Linked DNA regions of Homo sapiens: regions 1, 2, 3, 4 and 6 are each linked to region 5. Evidence: promoter capture Hi-C in human tissues and cell types (Jung and others, 2019). All regions are on one chromosome and are shown on one strand. Each heading gives the region's core, a stretch centred on a gene start or on the middle of the fragment in contact. The rest is flanking DNA. Distances are from core to core; before and after follow the strand shown.

The links. The method cuts DNA at HindIII sites, captures the fragments that hold promoters and counts their contacts. A contact is called where the count stands out against the background at its distance.
Region 1: a contact is called between a fragment that was not itself captured here and the fragment with the promoter of LONP2 in region 5, in 1 of the 25 tissues and cell types used here (spleen).
Region 2: a contact is called between a fragment that was not itself captured here and the fragment with the promoter of LONP2 in region 5, in 2 of the 25 tissues and cell types used here (lymphoblastoid cells and spleen).
Region 3: a fragment that was not itself captured here is called in contact with the fragment with the promoter of LONP2 in region 5 in 1 of the 25 tissues and cell types used here (spleen).
Region 4: a fragment that was not itself captured here is called in contact with the fragment with the promoter of LONP2 in region 5 in 1 of the 25 tissues and cell types used here (spleen).
Region 6: a contact is called between the fragment with the promoter of C16orf78 here and the fragment with the promoter of LONP2 in region 5, in 1 of the 25 tissues and cell types used here (lymphoblastoid cells).

Annotation. Positions count from the first base shown.
Region 1 is chr16:46,731,137-46,734,543 of GRCh38, forward strand. It overlaps MYLK3 (myosin light chain kinase 3), which reads right to left. Exons shown (of 13, transcript NM_182493.3): 4 at 1,072-1,532. Among named protein-coding and RNA genes, the nearest start is that of MYLK3, 16 kb to the right of the region's middle. The HindIII fragment of the contact is 6,295 bases long and covers 1-3,407 here.
Region 2 is chr16:47,054,903-47,058,117 of GRCh38, forward strand. No RefSeq gene overlaps it. Among named protein-coding and RNA genes, the nearest start is that of DNAJA2-DT, 83 kb to the left of the region's middle. The HindIII fragment of the contact is 6,804 bases long and covers 1-3,215 here.
Region 3 is chr16:47,094,077-47,097,257 of GRCh38, forward strand. All of the region lies in intron 7 of NETO2 (neuropilin and tolloid like 2), which reads right to left. Among named protein-coding and RNA genes, the nearest start is that of NETO2, 48 kb to the right of the region's middle. The HindIII fragment of the contact is 5,022 bases long and covers 1-3,181 here.
Region 4 is chr16:46,796,765-46,800,049 of GRCh38, forward strand. It overlaps C16orf87 (chromosome 16 open reading frame 87), which reads right to left. Exons shown (of 4, transcript NM_001001436.4): 4 at 1-3,285. Among named protein-coding and RNA genes, the nearest start is that of C16orf87, 33 kb to the right of the region's middle. The HindIII fragment of the contact is 3,265 bases long and covers 217-3,285 here.
Region 5 is chr16:48,242,767-48,246,223 of GRCh38, forward strand. It overlaps LONP2 (lon peptidase 2, peroxisomal), which reads left to right and starts at 1,534. Exons shown (of 15, transcript NM_031490.5): 1 at 1,534-1,855. The coding sequence starts at 1,623. The region is part of intron 1 of ABCC11 (ATP binding cassette subfamily C member 11); the gene reads right to left. RefSeq lists an enhancer at 1,470-1,559. The HindIII fragment of the contact is 28,002 bases long and covers 1-3,457 here.
Region 6 is chr16:49,372,131-49,375,476 of GRCh38, forward strand. It overlaps C16orf78 (chromosome 16 open reading frame 78), which reads left to right and starts at 1,674. Exons shown (of 5, transcript NM_144602.4): 1 at 1,674-1,959. The coding sequence starts at 1,810. It overlaps LOC105371244 (a long non-coding RNA gene), which reads right to left. Exons shown (of 8, transcript XR_001752167.2): 8 at 194-2,800. RefSeq lists enhancers at 1,127-1,857, 1,858-2,588. The HindIII fragment of the contact is 5,141 bases long and covers 1-3,346 here.

The DNA.
Region 1 (3,407 bases), core at 93-2,592, 1.5 Mb before region 5:
ATCCACCCTCTCTCCTCTCACCCTCCATCTCCTGCCAGCTGAGCCCAACCAGAAGCTCAGCATGACAGCCCGTGATGGAGCCAGAGGGGCAGGCCCCGGGGCACAGGATTGGGGAGGGGGTGGACAGGGGATCTGTCGGCAAGGGAAATAGAGGACGGCCAGCACTTGGAAAGGTTTGCTTGTTTGTTTGTTTTTTAATGGTTTAGGGTTGTTTTATTTTAATCTTGTCCTTCAGAGGTGATATGAATACCTAGAAATGTTACAGGAAATAGACTAAATGAATAAAACAGAATCTAGAACACACAGCAAGTGCAGTGGTATGAACCGGTTGTGCACCAAGGGCTGGAAGGAAGTTGGCTCGGGCTAGCGTTTGTTCAGTGCTCGCCATGGGAGCACTTTGCCTGCTCTCCAACTACCGGGAACACCGACAGTGGTCCGTGGACAATTCTCAGACCAAGGAGGGTGTGACCCTAGGGCTGGAGGGGTTGAGGGCTTTTAGATCATAAGAACACACCCTGGGTCACTAGCCCGGGTGGGTGGGAATGGCTGACAGTGGTCACAGACACCAATTCATGTCTTCGCTTTTTAACAGAGCCTTCTCTCTCTCAATCCAAAATGAGACTCATGGTGGCAAGCTCAGGTGGGCAGGTGGCGGTAAGAAATCTCCCCAGTGGCCAGGCACAGCGGCTTATGCCTGCAATCCCAAAGCTCTGGGAGGCCGAGGCTGGAGGATCACTTGAACCTGGGTCAAGCCTGCAGGGGACTATGATCATGCCACTGGACTCCAGCCTGGGCAACAGAGCAAGACCCTGTCTCCAAAAAAGGAAATGTACCCAGGTGGGCCACACGTGTCCCCTCTCCCTTACCCCTGCAGCCAGCCCAAGTTCAGGCCCCACATCTCTGCGCCTTGGTCTCCAGCCCCAGGATGTACCTGGAGATGTTCCCGACTCTTGGACGCCCCCAGACTCATATGATCTACCCCTGGAAGCTACAGGAAGACTCCCCAGGAGTAGGGGCTCCAAACTCCCTCCCCTCAGGGCTCGTGTCTAGCCAGGCAACAGCCCCACTTACCCAGAACCACGCTGCCAGCCTCGGCGCCTGGGGGCATCCTCCTTACTGCTTCAGCTCTCACCGGAGCCCTGGCTGCACAGTCCTGCTCAGGCTCAGGGTTTCCCGCCCCTGGGCTTTTGCCCTGCTGCAGGCCCAGGGCCCCAACCTCGTGGTCATTGTCGTCACTCCTGGCCAAGCTTGGTCTCGTGCCAGGCTCGGCCCCAGCCCTTTGCTCCTCCTCTGCCTTCACTCCCCCGGGGCTGCTGCTCTCCTGCAGCGGGGAGAGCTCTCTGGCTCCTTCAGGGGTCTGTTCTCCGGGCTCAGTCCCAGGGGCTTGGAGGCAGCGCCCGGTCCCAGGTGGGCCCTGCTTGCCTGGCTGGGCAGCTGCTGGAGCCTCTGTGGTGAGGGTGGGTCCAAGGCTGCCCCTGCCTGTCATCAGCATCTCCCCAGGAGTATCCATCTCTTGTATGTGGATGGAGATCCTGGGGTGGAGAGAAACATGGTGCTGAGGTTAGAGGCAAGGACTCTGGAGTCAGAACAGACGTGGGTTCCAATGCCCACTGCTGCCATCATTGACAATGGCCCTGGGGCCCTGCTAGACAGGACACCAGGGCAGGAGCTGACTTCAGTGACAGTTGGTGCCATCAGCTCCCAGGATCCCACCGGATGAGGGTCCTGGGAAGCTTGAGAATGGACAGGGGTGAGGACCATACACCCCTGAGAACCTGCTTCTGTCCCAGGAGAACTGAGGCCTGTAGGCGGGAGGCCCGGGTCCCTCTACCTTCCCCTGGGCCCAGTTTCCCTTTCACTTAAATGAAGATAAGGAGAAACCAACTCAAACGTCACACTGGAAGCCCCAGATCAGAAGTATTTGTTTAAAATCAGTCAATTCCAGCTGGGCACAGTGGCTCACACCTGTAATCCCAGTGCTTTGGGAGGCCAAGGTGGGAGGATCCCTTGAGGCCAGGAGTTTGAGACCAGCCTGGGCAACATAGCAAGACCCCACCTCTACAAAAAATAATTTTAAAAAACTTAGCCAGGAGTGGTGGTCCCAGATACTCAGGAGGCTGAGGCAAGAGGACTGCTTAAACCCAGGAGATGGAGGCTACAGTGAGCTATGATCATACCACTGCACTCCAGCCTGGGCGACAGAGTGAGAGACCCTGTCTCAAAAACTAAAATAAAATAAAATCAGGCAATTCTCATAAAAGACTAGACTTTCTGTTCATCTTGAACAAACAGAAGAGCTGGCTGTGCTGGGCCCACGTGCCCACATGGTTGAGGAACAGCTCTCCACTTCAGCACAGGCCCTGCGCACCCTGGCAATGCCCCAGCTCACTTCACTCATTTTCACTGCCCAGACTCTGCAATACTAGGGTTTGTGAGCCCAGATGGAGGTGGGAAAGGCCCTCTGAGCCCCGACCTCTAGAAGGAAGGACCCTGATCCTGGCAGTCAAGTCACCCGGGAATCCAAACCCTCTCTCTCCGAGTCTCCCCACCTCTGGCTGCCTCTTGGTGGGGCTTCTTTTTGCTGGGCCACAATCCCACAGCACGGGGTCTATGTGTGTTAGGGGGTGAGGGTGACAGTGTCTGGCGGGGACTGAGTCTCAGCAGGGAGGCAGGTGGCCTCGATTCTGGGCTTAGCTCTGCCAGCAGGTTGCTGGACAGCTTTGGATAAGTCTGGCCTCAGTTCTCTCTTTTCTCTTCAGGGACGGTGATACCTTACAGATGCACCAAGAGTCAACCAAGAGAGGAAGGCACAAATGCAGGGGTTCAAAAGGGCTAAAATGGCACAACTGCTGTGGAAAACTGGAGGCTCTTCAGAAATTAAAAGTAGGATTACCGCATGTTTCAGCAACTCCACTTCTGGGTATATATCCCAGAGAATCCAAAGCAGGGTCTCCAAGAGACATCTGTACACTCATAACTGTAGCAGCATTACTCACAAAAGCCAAAAGGTGGAAGCAACCCAAATGCCCAGTGATGGATAATACATAGACAGAAGGTGGTGTCTACGCATTATATAGCACAGAATACTATTCAGCCTTAAAGAGGAGGGACGTTCTGACACACACTACAGCATCGATGGACCCTGAGGACACTGTGCTCAGTGAAATGAGCCAGGCACAAAAAGACAAATCCTGTGGCCAGGTGCAGTGGCTCACATCTGTAATCCCAGCGCTTTGGGAGGCCAAGGAGAATGGATCACCTGAGATCAGGAGTTTGATACCAGACTGGCCAACATGGAGAAAGTCCATCTCTACTAAAAATACAAAAATTAGCTGAGTGTGGTGGCACGTGCTTGTAGTCCCAGCTACTTGGGAGGCTGAGGGAGGAGAATAGCTAATCGCTTGAAC
Region 2 (3,215 bases), core at 716-3,215, 1.2 Mb before region 5:
AGAGAGGAGGCCCTGGAAAGGGTAGCTCCTCTCCAGGAGGCTGGTTATTCCCACGTCTCTGCAGGTCTCTGAAGCTCTGAGCAGAAAGGATAGCCTCTCTCTGTAGCTGGTCTTCCTGTCCTCTCTCTGTCCTTCACCTTCTCTGCCCTGCTCTGGCCATCCTCTCTCTTGCTCTGGCTGAGCCCAGGGCTTTTATGTCGCTCAGAGGGGAGGAAGTGCATGCCCACTGGTCCATGGGTGGCCATGGGTGGGCCTGGAAGAGGCACCATGAGTCCGCACTCAGGTCCGCAGGACTGGCAGCCCAGCCCCCAGCCTTCAGGCCCTCTCTGGCCTGAAGGTGGGGCCTTACTGGGGTCCCCCGCTTCCACCCAGGAATCTGTCTGCCTCCTGCTGCCATTCATGACCCCTGGGGCTCGGCCCTAAGCCCTGCTCCAGTATCGGAGTGGGCGCCAGGACGGGAGAGAAACCAGGCAGCAGGAGCAGGGACAGGAGGCTGGGCGGTCTTCCCCAGCCGCCTTGAGGACGCAGGCTGCAGAGATGCACTGGGCCTGTGCCTGGGAGGGTGGCCGCAGCTGCATCCAGGAGCTCCTGTCCCACCAACCTGGAAGGGGCAGGACTCCCGCTTGTCCCCGGCTCCGGCCTGCTCTGTGAAGCGGGAGGCCCAGGTCTGCAGCCACAGTTTGGGGGACTGCAGCTGCACCCGCAAGGGCAGATCCTGCCTGCTCCCGGGCCCCCTTCAAGAGCACAGCGAGTCTTGGATCCACAGCCGCAGTTTGGGTGGCTGTAACCCTGCCCAGGAGGGCGGGGCGTTTGCCTGCTTCGTAGAGCAGGAGGTCTGGGTCTGCAGCCACGGTTTGGGCAGCTGCAGCGGCACCCAGGGAGCTACTGCCCCAGCTCAGAAGGGATGGGGCTCCCACCGGCTCCATGGAGTGTGCAGCCCACCGCTCTGCCTTCCTGCTGCCATCAGTATCTCCAGGTAAGGCAGGTTGCACTGGCTTTTGTGCCCTTCGTCCATCCTATCCTCAGCCTAGAGGTCTTAAGGGCTGAAAATGGAGTCAATAATTTGCCTTTTAGTGGAATTTTTGGCTAAGTTCCTAATGGTGCACTTCCAGCGAAGTGGGCATGCTTAAGTCTTTGTTAGAGCTTCCAAAATTCAGTACAGTAGAAGTTTCTCTCTCACTGGGGGACCTAGGGCAAGTAATTGAGCCCCATCTGAGCCTCAGTTCCTTTGTCTGTACAATGGGGATGGAAAATGCCAGAACCTATCCTACAGGGTCATTGTACGGGGCTTAGAACAGGCGCTGGTGTTGGCAGCCAGGAGCGGTGGCTCACGCCTGTAATTCCAGCACTTTGGGAGGCAGAGGCGGGCGGATCACAAGGTCAGGAGATCGGGACCATCCTGGCCAACATGGTGAAAGCCCGTCTCTACTAAAATACAAAAAATTAGCCAGGCGTGGTGGCACGCGTCTGTAATCCCAGCTCTTCAGGAGGCTGAGGCAGGGGAATTGCTTGAAGCCGGGAGGCGGAGGTTGCAGTGAGCTGAGATCACGCCACTCCACTCCAGCCTGGCAACAGAGCAAGACTCCGTCTCAAAAAAAAAAAAAAAAAAAAAAAAAAAAGAACAGGGGCTGGGGCTTGGGGGCAATTGCCCCCTAAATGTCAGCTCTTCTTATTACTTGGCCTGTCCTGGAAGCTGACTTTTTAAGGAGCAACTTTCTCTGCCTCTTTCTTTTTATTGGTTTTTATTTTCACTCATTCTAGTTGGAGGAGTAACTGTCTTTCTTTCATTCTTCTCCCTCCTTAGCCTCTGCCACACTCCTTGGGAGCCCAGCTCACTTTCTTCAGGAAAGGAAGCATCTGCAGTGGGGTTTGGAAATCTCATTGCTTGGGGGCCACTGGGGGTGCTTTGGCAGTGATGCCCCAGCCCAGAGAAGACCTCGCTTTCTTCTTTGAATTAACTGAAATCTCTGCCTCCCATGAGTTCTTGTCAGGAAAATTGCTCTCAATCACTTACAGCTATTTCCCTTTCCAAGGATCTAATTTTCCTAATTCCCAGAATGCTGCCCTAATTGTATTGTAGTTTCTGAGAAGGTGACGATGGTAGGGGCTGGGTGTATATGTGTGTATCTGTGTGTGTCTGTGTGTGTATCTGTTTGTGTCTGTATGTGTGAGGGTGTGTCTGTGTGTGTGTCTGTGTGTGTCTCTGTGTCTATGTGTAAGGGTGTGTTGTGTGTGTTTGTGTGAGAGGGTGTGTGTGTCTATGTGTCTGTGTGTGTCTGTGTGAGGGTGTGTGTCTGTGTGAGAGGGGGTGTGTGTGTCTGTGTGTATCCATGTGTGTGTGTCTGTGTGTGTCTCTATGTGTGAGGGTGTGTGTGTGTCTGAGAGGGTGTGTGTGTGTCTGTGTCTGTGTGTGTATCTGTGTGTGTGTGTCTGTGTGTGTCTCTGTGAGGGTGTGTGTGTGTCTGAGAGGGTGTGTGTGTGTCTGTTTGTGTCTGTGTGTGTATCCGTGTGTGTGTGTCTGTGTGTGTCTCTGTGTGAGTGTCTGTGTGTGTCTCTATGTGTGTCTGTGTGTGTCTGTGTGCGTCTCTGTGTGTGTCTGTGTGCATGTGTGTGTCTGTGTGTATTTGCCAAATGGGGTTCCCAGCACAGGGAATGGGGATCTCTTGGTGACTTCCTTTTAAAGCCTGCATTTTCCTGGACACTGAAGGTGTCCCAAAGACCCTGGCCTCCTTCCCGAGTCTCATCCACTGACCTGAGACAGTGGCTGGGAAACAGTCCTGGGGGTGAGGATGAGGCCACCTGATTTGACCAGGAATGAGTCAGAAACGTTGTGGACTTGAAGAAGGCCAGCTGGAGGTCTTGTTTTCAGCAGCCCTGCGGAGGGCAGGAAGGTTGGCAGAGGAGATGGCGTGAGCTCATGCCCAGTAGGACTACTGTGGCCCAGTAGGTCCCACAGAGCAATGTCCTCTCCTGTCTCCTGGCGTTTACTCAGGCCTGGTATGGCCAACTATTGTGGCCTCATCTGAAGCAATGTCTGTGTGCAGGGAAAATTCCAATTCTCTTCCACAGCTCAAACAGAACTTCTGGCACCAAATATGTGGGTTTTTCCACACTAAGCAATTCTCCAATTCTCTGCAGATACCAACTGGGCATCCAGTAACTCAACCCAATTCCCACAGGTGGAGGGCTGCTGCATTATTCCATAAGACCATTTC
Region 3 (3,181 bases), core at 676-3,175, 1.1 Mb before region 5:
AGGAAACAGTTGGAAGAGGCTAACCAGCCCTGCCCAAATGTAGATTAAAGTTAAGGGCCATTCAAATTCAAGTAAAAAAATGATGGTATTTTGGAAAGCAGATTTTGCCAAAGCTACTGGTAATATGATCTGCACTTATGATAAGCAAAATAAAAAAAAATTAGGAAGTACTGATATATCACTTGGATTTTTTTTTTTTTTTTTTAATCCTTAGCTAATTGGCTGAGGAGTTTAAGGAGATAGAAAAGCAAAGAAATATAACAGAAACAGTTTTTCCTGGTGGGAATGTATTCACTTGATTTTTCAGGAACCTAAAGGAAGGTTTGTTTTATTTATTTACTTATTTATTTATTTATTTATTTATTTAGAGACGGAGTCTTACTCTGTCACCCAGGCTGGAGTGCAGTGGTGCAATGTTGGCTCACTGCAAGCTCCGCCTCCCGGGTTCACGCCATTCTCCTGCCCCAGCCTATCGAGTAGCTGGGACTACAGGCGCCCGCCACCATGCCCGGCTAATTTTTTGTATCTTTAGTAGAGACAGGGTTTCACCGTGTTAGCCAGGATGGTCTCAATCTTGTTGACCTCATGATCTGCCCGCCTTGGCCTCCCAAAGTGCTGGGATTACAGGCATGAGCCACCGCGCCTGGCCATTTATTTTTTGAGACGGGGTCTTGCTCTGTCACCCAGGCTGGAGTGCAGTGGTGCAATCTTAGCTCACTCCAACCTCTGCCTCCTGGGTTCAAGTGATCCTCCCATCTCAGTCTCCTGAGTGGTGCATACCACCACGCCCAGCTAATTTTTGTATTGTTAGTAGAGATGGGGTTTCACCATGTTGGCTAGGCAGGCTGGTCTCAAACTCCTGAGCTCAAGCGATCCACCCGCCTCGGCCTCACAAAAGCTGGAATTACATGTATGAGCCGCTGTGCCTGGCCTAGGAACCCAAAGAAGAATCCTAAAATCTGTCTTCAAAATTTCTCCACTTTTAAGTTGTGGTGGTTGTCTGTGTATGAGCTACAACCTTTAATAAGAAAAACTTCCCACATGCTTACCAAATAGTGAAGATAACTTTTAAAAACTTAAGCAGTTCATAAAAACACAATCTCCATAGTAACCATAAGAACATATCTATAAAATATACACAAAAGGAAATGCGAAGGGAATCAAAACTTGTCACTACAAAAAAAAATCAATTAAAGAAAAGAAGGCAGTAATGGAGGAAATGAGAGACAACAAAGCTATAGACACACAGAAAACAAGTAGCAAAGTGACAGAACCTTCCTCATCAGCAATTAAACATAAATAAACTCTCCAATCAAAAGAAGAGATTGCAGAATTGATGGGAAAAAACAAGATCCAATTATATGCTGCCTGTAGGACACTCACTTTAAAGATATAAAAAAGTTGAAAGTAAAAGGATGGACAAAGATATTCCATGCAAATAGTTGCTAAAAGACAGCTAGGGGGTGGCAAGACTAGTCTTGGATAAAAAAGGACACGGTATATTGATAAAAGGGTCAATTCACCCAGAAGATATAACGATTATAAACATATATGGACTAAAAACAAAGGAGCCCTAAAATATATGAAACAAACATTGATAGAACTGATGGGAGAAGTAGACACTTGTACAATAGTAATTGGAGACTTCAACATTGCACTTTCAATAAAGGATAGAATGACCAGGCAGAACATCAATAAGAAAATAAAGGACCTGAACACCACTATAGACCAAATGGACCTAACATATACAGAAAATTCCACCCAATAACAGAAAAATGTAATTTTTCTCAATTACACATCAGACAGTCTCTAGAATAGACTACGTATGTTCAGCCACAAAACAAGTCTTAATATATTTTAAATGACTGAAATATAAAATTTATTTTCAAATCAAAATGGAATGAAACTAGATATCAACAACTGAAGGAAAATGAAAAAATTCACAAGTCTGTGTAAATTAAACTACACACTCTTACACAACTTTTAAAGCTGTGATTTCAAAAAAGAAATCCACGGGAAATTATAAGATACCTTGAGACAAATGAAACCCAAAACATGCCAAAACTTATGCAGAGTACTAAAAGCAGTAGTAAAAGGGAAATTTACACCTGTAAATGCCTACATTAAAAAAGAAGAAACAACTTAGATCAATAGTTTAACTTTATACCTTAAGGAACTAGAGAAAGAAGACAAACTAAATCCAAAGCTAGCAGAAGTAACAAAATAATAAAGATTTGAGTGACAATAAATAAAATAGAAAACAGAAAAAGAGCAAAAACCCAAAACTTGATTCTTTGGACAGATCAACAAGACTGACAAACCTGTGGCTAGAATTATTAAGAACAAAAAGACTCAAATTATTAAAATCAGAAATGCAACTGGAGACATTACTACAGATCTGACGTATATAAAAAGAATCATAAGTGAATACTAAGAACAACTGTATGCCAACAAACTGACAACCTAGAGGAAATGGATGAATTCCTAGAAACACACAATCAAAACTGCATAATGAAGCCAAAGAAAATCTGAATAGGCCTAAAACTAGCAAGGAGATTAAAAAAAGAATCCAGAACTTCTCAACAAAGAAAGGCTCTGGATCACATGGCTTCACTGGTGAATTCTACTAAACATGTAAAGAATTAACACCAATCAGTTGATTCCTGGGCAAGATGGCCGAATAGGAACAGTTCCAGTCTGCAGCTCCCCATGAGATCAAGGCAGAAGGCAGGTGATTTCTGCATTTCTAACTGAGGTACCCAGCTCATTTCACTGGGACTGGTTAGACAGTGGGTACAGCCCACGGAGGACGAGTAGGAGCAGGGTGGAGGGTCACCTCACTTGGGAAGCTCAAGGGGTCGGGGAACTCCCTCCCCTAGCCAAGGGAAGCCATGAGGGAACGGCGCATTCTGGCCCAGATACTACACTTTTCCCATGGTCTTCACAACCCGCAGACCAGGAGATTCCCTCGGGTGCCTACACCACCAGGGACCTGGGTTTCAAGCATAAAACTGGCGGCCATTTGGGCAGACACCGAGCTACCTGCAGAAGTTTTTTTTCATACCCTAGTGGTGCCTGGAACGCCAGCGAGACAGAACTGTTCATTCCCCTGGAAAGGGGGCTGAAACCAGGGAGCCAAGTGGTGTAGTTCAGCAGATCCCACCCCCACGGGGCCCTTCAG
Region 4 (3,285 bases), core at 599-3,098, 1.4 Mb before region 5:
AACACTTGCATCACTGGAGCCTAAGAGGGAGGAGAAAGTAGAGCAGAAAATATCTGAATGGTTTAAAACTTTACATAATCTGATGAAAGGCATAAACTTACACATTTAAGCTCAACAAATCCCAAAGAGAATAAATTCAAACACCCGGGCACATCATAATCAAACCAATAAAAACCAAAGACAAAGATTCCTGAAAATACTCAGAGAAAAATAACATGTTTCATACAGGGGAAATATTACTTTAATGGCTGCACATTTCTCATCAGAAACCATGGAGGCTGAAAGAACTGTCAACACAGTAGTTTATATCCAGCAAAAATATCTTTCATGAATTAAGGCAAAATAAAGACATTCTCAGATGAAGAAAAAATAAGAGAATTAAATGTCAACAGACCTGCACTAAAAGAAATTTTCCAGATGAAAAGGACTGATACCTATGTAAACTTGGAACATCAAGAATTAAGGAAGATTAATACAAATGATAAATATTGTGGTAAATGTGATAGACTGTTTTCCTCTTGGGTTCTTAAAAATATCTATGATAGTTGTAAGGAAAAAATACATTATCTGATGAGTCTTATTTTTTATTTTTATTTTTTGAGACACAGTGTCTAGCTCTGTCACTCAGGCTGGAGTGGAGTGGAGTGATCTTGGCTCACTGCAACCTCTGCCTCCTGGGCTCAAGTAATCCTCCCACTTCAGCCTCCTGAGTAGCTGGGACTACAGGAACATGCTACCACGCCTAGCTAATTTTGTGTATTTTTTGTAGAGTTGGGGTTTCACCACATTGTCCAGGCTGGTCTCGAACTCCTGGACTTAAGCAATCTGCTCGCCTCGGCCTCCCAGTCCTGGGATTACAGGTGAGCCACTGTGCCCAGCCAAGTCTTATGATTTATAAGAAAATTATAACATAAAGGGGAGAGGGTAAAGGAATGTAAACAGTGGTAAGATTTTTCTACATTCCACTTGAACTGGTAAAATATTGACTTCTAAGTGAACTGTAAAAAGTGAAGTATGTTTATAGTAATCCCTAGAGCAAATACTGCAAAACTATTCAAAGAACTATAATTTTAAAAAACAATAAATTACAATCAGTAACAGAAAGATAACTGAAAAAAACTCTAAATATTTGAAAATTATAGTAATACCAAGAAAAATCAGAATATTCTAAATTGAACACAAAATTACAACACAATAAAATTTGTGAGATAAAGCAAATGGGAAATTTATAGCATTAAATGCTTTTTTTAGAAAAGCACAAAAAGCCTTCTGATCAGTGTTGAATTAAATAAATAAATAAATAAATAAGTAAATTTTAAAATCAATGATCTGAGCTTCCGCCACAATAAGCTAGAAAAGGGAGCAAATAAGCCCAAAGCAAAGAAAGGAGAAAATACTAAAGATCAGAAATTAATGAAACTTAAAACAGAAAAACAGCAAAATATCAATAAACCAGAGCAGGTTCTTACAAAAGAGAAATGCAGCCGGGCACGGTGGCTCATGCCTGTAAAGGCGGGTGGATCACCGGAGCTCAGGAGTTCGAGACCAGCTTGGCCAACATGGTGAAACTCCATCTCTACTAAAAATACAAAAAGAAGCTGGGTGTAGTGGCGTGCGCCTGTAATTCCAGCTACTCAGGAGGCTAAGGCAGGAGAATCGCTTGAACTCGGGAGGCAGAGGTTGCAAGGTTGCATTGAGCCAAGATCACACCACTGCCCTCCAGCCTGGGCGACAGAGCGAGACTGTAATCCCAACACTTTGGGAGGCTGAGTCAGGAGTTGAAGACCAGCCTGGCCAACATGGTAAAAACCTATCTCTACTAAAAATTCAAAAATTAGCCGGGCATGGTGATGCACACCTGTATACCCAGGTACTTGGGAGGCTGGTGAGGGAAGCTTGAACCCAAGAGGCAGAGGGTGCAGTGAGCCAAGATCGCACCATTGCACTCCAGCCTGGGTGACAGAGTGAGACTCCGTGTCAAAAAAAAAAGAAAAGAAAAGCTATCAGTATGTTTCACCATATGAACATTCTAAAGGGGAGAAAAAAGGTCCTATCAATTATGCAGAAAAAGCATCTGACAAAATTCAACATCTGTTCCTGACAGAAAACTTCCAACAAGCAGAAATAAAAGAGTCTACCCTCAATCTACTAAAGGGTATTTTTTCAAGCCCACAACAACAACAAAGTTATTTAATGCTTAATGACTGAATGTTTCCCCCCTACAACTGGATCAAGGCAAAAAGTCCCAACCAGTGCAATAAGGCAAAGAAAAAAATATAGAAATTATCAATAAAAGAACAAAACAGATTCCTTAATAATGCAAAAGGCAAATACTTGACTGGGGTAAAAAGAATTATTCTATTCCAGACTCTGTTATATGTCTCATACTTTTAATCCTGGAGAGTCTGCTTTGTATGTTAGGATAGTTATTAGTATAGTTGTAATCTTTGAGTAGTAAGTACTACTAATATTCAAACTATAATAAATGGGTTAAGGCAGCACAAAAGAATAATTTAAAAAAATAGTTCCCTAGAAAATAGATCCTGAGAATAAAAATATATAAACATATATACATGTACTTCCAAATGTAAAAATGAAGCTTGTCATGTAGTAAAAGAAAAAACCCAGCTGCACAGAAAAAACTTTAATTAACTTAAATAAGAGATTTGTTAACAACAATATGCCTTAAAGGCTAGAAAGACAGAAAATACTAGGGAAAAAATGCTTTTAACTAGCAAGAATATAAGGCATCAAACCAAACTAGAAGGTAAAGTGGAAATAATTAAGAATGAGTTTCAAAGAATGACGGACAAAATGTTTTAGAGAAGAACACAATTTGGCAGAATGACTACCTGTATCTAGAGCATATTTTGAAAGTGGAATCAAACAAATTCAATACTTTTTTCACACAGGGTGTTTCTTGCTCTGCCTCCCAGGCTGGAGTGCAGTGGCAAGATCATCACTCACTGCAGCCTCGAACTCCTGGGCTCAAGTGATCCTTTAGCCTCAGCTGCCTAGTAGCTGGAAGCACCACACCCAGCTAATTTTACTTTTTGTAGAGACGCGGTCTCATCATGTTGCCCAGGCTGGTCTCAAACTCCTGGCTTCAAACAACTCTCCTGCCTTGGCCTCCCAAAGTGTTGGGATTACAGGTGTAAGCCACCATGCCTGGCCAATTAATACTTTATATAAAAGTAAGTAAAGAGCTTAATTTTTCTAAATTTAAGACAAACATGCAGATTGAAAGGCAAGCCAAAATTAAATATTGCCAAGTCATTTTAATGA
Region 5 (3,457 bases), core at 284-2,783:
ACCATCATTCTGAGCAAACTATCGCAAAGACCGAAAACAAAACACTGCAAGTTCTCACTCATAGGTGGCAACTGAACAATGAGAACACTTGGACACAGGGTGGGGAACATCACACTCAGGGGCCTGTCGTTGGGTGGTGGGGAGTGGGGGGGAAGGGATACCATTAGGAGATATACCTAATGTAAATGACGAGTTAGTGAGTGCAGCAAACCAACATGGCACATGTATACATATGTAACAAACCTGTACGTTGTGCACATGTACCCTAGAACTTAAACTATAATAAAAAATAAAATTAAATTAAAAACAGAAAAAAAATAAAAGTATCAAGGTTGTAAAAAAAAAAAAAATTGGACGGGCGCAGTGGCTCAGGCCTGTAATCCCAGCACTTTTGGGAGGCCAAGGCGGGCAGATCACGAGGTCAGGAGATTGAGACCATCCTGGCTAACATGGCGAAACCCCGTCTCTACTAAAAATACAAAAAATTAGCCGGGCGTGGTTGCGGGTGCCTGTAGTCCCCAGCTACTCGGGAGGCTGAAGCAGGAGAATGGCATGAACCCGGGAGGCGGAGCTTGCAGTGAGCCGAGATCTCGCCACTACACTCCAGCCTGGGTGACAGAGCGAGACTCCGTCTCAAAAAAAAAAAAAAAAAAAAAAAATTGAGGACTTGCCACAGATTAGAGAACACCTAGGAGATTTCATAACAAAACACCTAGGAGATTTCACAACAGGATCCTGGATATTGGATCCTGGACCAGATCCAATGAAGGACATTAGTGGGAAAACTGGCAAAATTTGGGTAAGGCCTATAGGTTAAACGATAATAATGTTAATTTCCTGGTTTTGATCATTGAACTATGATTATGTAAGATGATAACAGACGAAACTGGGTGAAAGGTATATAGGAACTCTGCTGTAGTTTTGTACATCTAAAATCAATTCGGGCCGGGCACGTTGGCTCACGCCTGTAATCCCAGCACTTTGGGAGGCCGAGGTGGACGGATCGCTTGAGGTCAGGAGTTAAAGACCAGCCTGGCCAACATGGTGAAATCCCCTCCCTACTAAAAATACAACAATTAGCTGGGTGTGGTGGCGGGCATCTGTAATCCCAGCTACTCGGGAGGCTGAGGCAGGAGAATCGCTTGAACCCGGGAGGCAGAGGCTGCAAGCCGTGGGTATCGCGCCATTGCACTCCAGCCTCCGCGACAGAGCGAGAATCTGTCTCAGAATAAATAAATAAATAAATAAATAAATAATTAGTTCGAATCAAAAGTTAAAAACACTTCAAGTATATGTAAAAAATCGAAGAAAACGTTAAAAACACTTCAAGTATATACAATTCAAATAAGATCATCCTTCCAAATATACTCTGTAAGTGAGGCGAAGGTCGCTGCACGCTTGAGTGCACGTCTTTCCGCATAGGTAGGACGCTCAAGTCTTACCGGGAGGCTCTCCTAGAGAGCAGCGCGAAGCCATGGCTTTTGGGCCCGGGGACGGACCGTAGCGCGTAGCCGGAAGCGGAGGCGTGGAGGCGGGTCTGAGGTTTGGTGACTGCGGGGCAGGCCGGGGGCAGCTGTCTGTCTGGCTCTTTTTGACAGCCCCCAGTGCGAAAGGCTGCCAGCATGTCATCAGTGAGCCCCATCCAGATCCCCAGTCGCCTCCCGCTGCTGCTCACCCACGAGGGCGTCCTGCTGCCCGGCTCCACCATGCGCACCAGCGTGGACTCGGCCCGCAACCTGCAGCTGGTGCGGAGCCGCCTTCTGAAGGGCACGTCGCTGCAAAGCACCATCCTGGGCGTCATCCCCAACACGCCTGACCCCGCCAGCGACGCGCAGGACCTGCCGCCGCTGCACAGGTAGGCCTGGCTGCCCCCGCGGCGGCGGCGGGCGGCGCGGCCTCCTCCGGGGACCTGGGCCCAGGCCACGGCCTGCCTTGAGCGCGAGGCTCAGTTCGGGGCGGCCTTCGCGGCTCGGTTCCGCCTCTCTGGTGCTATCACTTGCAAAATGGGGATGTCAGATACCTGCCCCATGACCATGAATGAGATCGTTCATGAAGTAGTGCCTGACACCTGGTGAAACTACGCAGTTCCCTACCGTTCTGGATAATTTAATTTGAATCCTCTTCCCCCTCTCCGCAATTCCTCGCCCTCGGTCTTCAGCCTCCTAGGCCAGTGCTTTTAACTTTCCAGGCCCTTTCTTTCTCCCCGGTGATCTCTGCCTTCACTTGCCTTCGCTTTTCACCTTTCTCCCCACTGCCCTTTACTCCTATCCGCCTCCCCTTTTCTGTCACCCATCATTTTTGTCCGCTGAGGCATTCTCTGCTCCGTGAGTTTTAACTTTTCCTGTTTCATTCCTAAACTGCACTATTTGTGGGTGCCTTTCTTCTATACTCCCTGCCACCCTTCTCCTTCTCCCCCTAATCCTTCTGTTTCCCTTTGTAAAGGGCCTTTACTGCTCACATTTTCGCTGGTCCCCCTTTCTGGAACTTTCCTAGCTTCTCACCTCTGCTCCTTCACTCATAACATTTCTTAGGCCCCAGGCTTACTACTATATTGCCCAGTACCCTCGCCCTATTGGTGTGACTTTGGGTGAGAGCTTTAACCTCTATTTCTTTTATTCTGCAATTTGGAAACTGACAGCATCCATCTCTTAGGCAAGTTATGAAGAATAAATTGAATAATGTGTATATTCCACTTTGCACCATGCATGATGGATGACTTTGCTGTCCAGTACTGTGTAGTGCATGTGGCTCGTCAAATTGAGATGATAGAATTGCCAGTTGTCCTGGTTTGCTGCGATTGTCTGTTTTAGCATTGAAAGTCCTATGTTTTAGCCCCTCCGTCCCAGGGAAACCAGGAGGTTGGTCACCCTAAATGTGCTGTAAGTGTACAATACACGCCAGATTTTGAAAAAACTTTTTGATTAATACATTTTATATGGATTAAATGTTGGAAAGGTAATATTTTGAGTACTTGGGGTTAATAAAATGTTAAGATTTCTGCTGTTTTTACTTTATAATGTGGCCACTAAAATTTTATATGTGGTCCACATTATATTTTTATTGGACAATGCTGGTATATCGTATGCTCTCAACAAGTATCTTCAAACTCACCTGCCAAGCACCCGCCTCCTATTCCTAACTCTACTGGAGGTGTTGTGTTTTCAGTTTAGAGCTTCTCCTTTCCTGGCAGTTATCCCTTATTTTTAAATTAGGGGTTCCTGACTCTGAATGGATTTCCGGAGGGTTGGACATGTCTTATTTTTCCTCAAAATCTTGTGACTATGTACATTTTTTTAGGAGAATCCTTTGCTTTCTTCAGATTCTCAAAGGAGACTGGTACCTCCCCCCACCCCCGTTAAAAGAAAGCAAAACAAAGCAACAAAGACCAACAAACCTTCCACAGCAGCCCAGTATTCATTTATATTGTAAAAGCCTTGATTTTCTCAAGCATGGAAAA
Region 6 (3,346 bases), core at 424-2,923, 1.1 Mb after region 5:
GCACTTTGTGAGGCCGAGACAGGTGGATCACGAGGTCAGGAGTTCAAGACCAGCCTGGCCAACATGGTGAAACCCCGTCTCTACTAAAAATACAAAAATTACAGTGCGCCTGTAATCCCAGCTACTCAGGAGGCTGAGGCAGGAGAATCGCTTGAACCTGGGGGACGGAGGTTGCAGTAAGCCGACTCTAGCCTGGGTGACAGAGCGAGACTCTGTCTCAAAAAAAAAAAAAAAGAAATTGGATGATAAGATGATGTTTACCCTTGGAGGGTGGTAATAACTACCAGGGGCTGTATGGAAGATTCTGGGGTACTGGTTACATAGATGTCTTCATTTGTGATTCTGGCACATTTTTGTATATATAATTTCCTTCAATAGAAGTTTACTAGAGCAAAAAAGGGAAGCCTGACCATGCCACTCCCTCCCCTTTTTTTGAATTCCTTTATTGTTTTCCTTTGCTCCCTTTCCCTTCCCAGTCTGAGCAGAACCTGTGGCTACCAAGTTCCTGGATGGCCTGGCCTCTGGCCACCTCTGTACCATTGCCTCTTTGCCTCTGGTACTCTAGTCACCCTTGCCTTCTGTTGTTAGTGCCATGCCTCCCGCTTGTCACAGGGCCTTTGCACAGGCATATTTCTCTGGTCCAAAGCCCTTATCTTAATCCATTTGGGCCTATGACAAAATACCACAAAGTGGGTAGCTTATAAACAACAAACATTCATTTATCACATTTTTGAAGCCTAGGAAATCCAAAATTAAGGCTCTGACAGATTCCGTTGTCTGCTGAACCCATTTCCTGGTGACACCTTCTCACTACATCTTCACATGGTGGAGCTCTCTCTAGTCTCTTCTGCAAGGGCACCAATTCCAATCATGAGAGAACTGCTCTCATGACCTAATTACCTCCCAAGACCCCACCTTTTAATGCCATCACCTTGGGGGTTAGGATTTCAGCACATGAATTTTGGAGGGACAGAAATGTCCAGACCATAACAGCCCTGTTGAAGTCTATTTATCCTTTAGCTCAGAGCTCAAAGGTGGCCTACCCACCACCCCATCCAAGTCTAGTACCATTGATATGGCCTTTCATAGAACTACATTCCTTTCTTTGAAAGCACTCATCTTCACTTGTCATTATGAATTCATACGGTAATTATCTGCCCTGTCTTTTCCACTAGCCCATATGTCTTAGGAGGTTTGCCTATGTTTTTTTCCTGCATTGTATCCCCAGCACCATTCCCAATACTTAGTAGGTGCCTGATAACCACATGTTGGATGAATAAATGAATATAGACGAATTGGGCTTATAAAAAGCTTTCTTCTAATTAGAGTACACTACAGAAAGATAGGATGCCAAACTAAAGAATTCAGATTTCTTTTAGATAGGCAACAAGGAGCCATTGAAGGTTTTTGAGAAAGGAAGATGCGTGGACAGACCTTTATTTTATTAAGATCTCTGTGGAGGTAGAGGTGGAGAGGCTGCAAGGAGGCTGTGGCAGAGTCCAGAGGAGACATAGCGCCTGAAGAGGGGTAGTGGCCACATGGAGAACAGTGGGAGGTGGCCAATGTCCCACCTCCACTCTGACCTCAGGGCCAGCTACCAAGACGGGCAATGACTTCACAATCACTGCCCAGGCCTTCCACCTTTTAAGGCCAATATCCCAGGGTCTTGGCTCACTCTGCCCTTTATGTTCACATCTGGAGGCCACACCCTACCTTCTAAGTCACCAGGCCATCAAGTCCAGACAAAGGGATCGAAAGAGTGAGACAGTGCCAGCCACCTCCCACCCAAGCCACTAGCAAGACTCCACAATGTCAGAGCAACAAATGGACCTGAAGGATTTAATGCCCACAAAGAGGAAATACATGTGGAAGACTGCTGAAGATAGGCGCATGTCTGACCTCACCTGTGTGCTGGAGTGGCTGGAGCGGAGGCAGGGGAAGAAGAAACAAGCTCCCGAGGTGGGTACCATCCAAGAGAAATGGCAGGAAGACTTTACTCAAGGTAGTTGCAGTAGGGGAGAGAGATTGAACTTAACTCTCCTGAAACAAAAGGCGGGATGGTTTTGAAGTGCTGGGATAAGCTAGTGAGAACTACCCAAGGACATTAAGGGGGTGGGGGAATTAGTTAATATGATTAGGCTGTCTGTGTTGCTAATTCGCACTTATAAATGTTAGGCTCCCATCCTCTCACAGAGACTGAGAGACAAGGTACAATCTTTCTTGATGATTACATTTCAAAGGGTCCTCCCAGGTCCTTGAGAAAAACATTCCTGGATTGTAAAACTAGCAAGAGACTGAGAGATTTACATCTCAAAGGGGCAGAGAAAAAATTTACAAATCCAAGTTTTCTAGAGGAAATGCTCTAAGGAAAAGGAGGCCAAGGGCCTATCATCAGGAAGAAACCTGTCTAAAGTTTAGTCAAGCTGGGCAAATGTTAGTATTGGTCAGAATTCTAGAAGGGCCAAGGGGCAGTGGCTTCTGGGTCTCCATATTGCAGGATGGGATCCTCCTACTGCCCTCAGCTCTTCTCTCCTTGTGATGCCTTCAGAATCAAAGAACATTCATTCCTCACTGCCATTACTGCAACTGCAACTCCAGCTAACATACCTCCTCTTTTCTACCCTACATCGAGCTAGTTCTAACCCACCCTTTCCTCTTTCTCCAAGAAATGTAGCAACCAAGTTTGCCTTAGTTTTTCCCAGAGCTCCCCCAAGACCTATCATCTATGAAGAACCAAGCCATGTCTTTGGAAAGTGGTGTCCTCTGCAGAAGATGCCACCTGGTCTTGAATCTCCTGACCCTAGAGCAAAATGAGTAAAAAATGCCATTACTAATAACAATGCTCAACACATCACTAACTTTTAATGTTTACTGTGGTCAAGGCCCTGTGCTTAGATTTGTACCTGGGTTATGTGGTCAATTGCTCCCAGTCAGGCTACCAGGGAGGCACCATTTTTACCCCTAGTTGAAGGATAAGGAAAGTGAAAATAAGTCATTTTATTGAAGTCACAGAAGTAATAAAGGGCAGAGCCAGGGCTCAAACTGAGGTTTTCCAATTCCCAAATGCATAGACTCCTCTGCTTTATCCAGGTCAGCACCTGCCTTTGGGGAAAGCTTCCATTATGTTTGTGTGCTTACTTACTGTATTAGTCCATTCTCATACTGCTACAAAGAAATACCTGAGACTGGGTCATTTATTTAAAAAAAAAATAAAAAAAAATGTTTAATTGGCTCATGGCTGTACAAGAAGCATAGGAGATTCCACTTCTGGGGAGGTCTCAGGAAGCTTACAATCATGGCAGAAGGCAAAAGAGGAGCAGGCACTTCACATGGCAAGAGCAAGAAG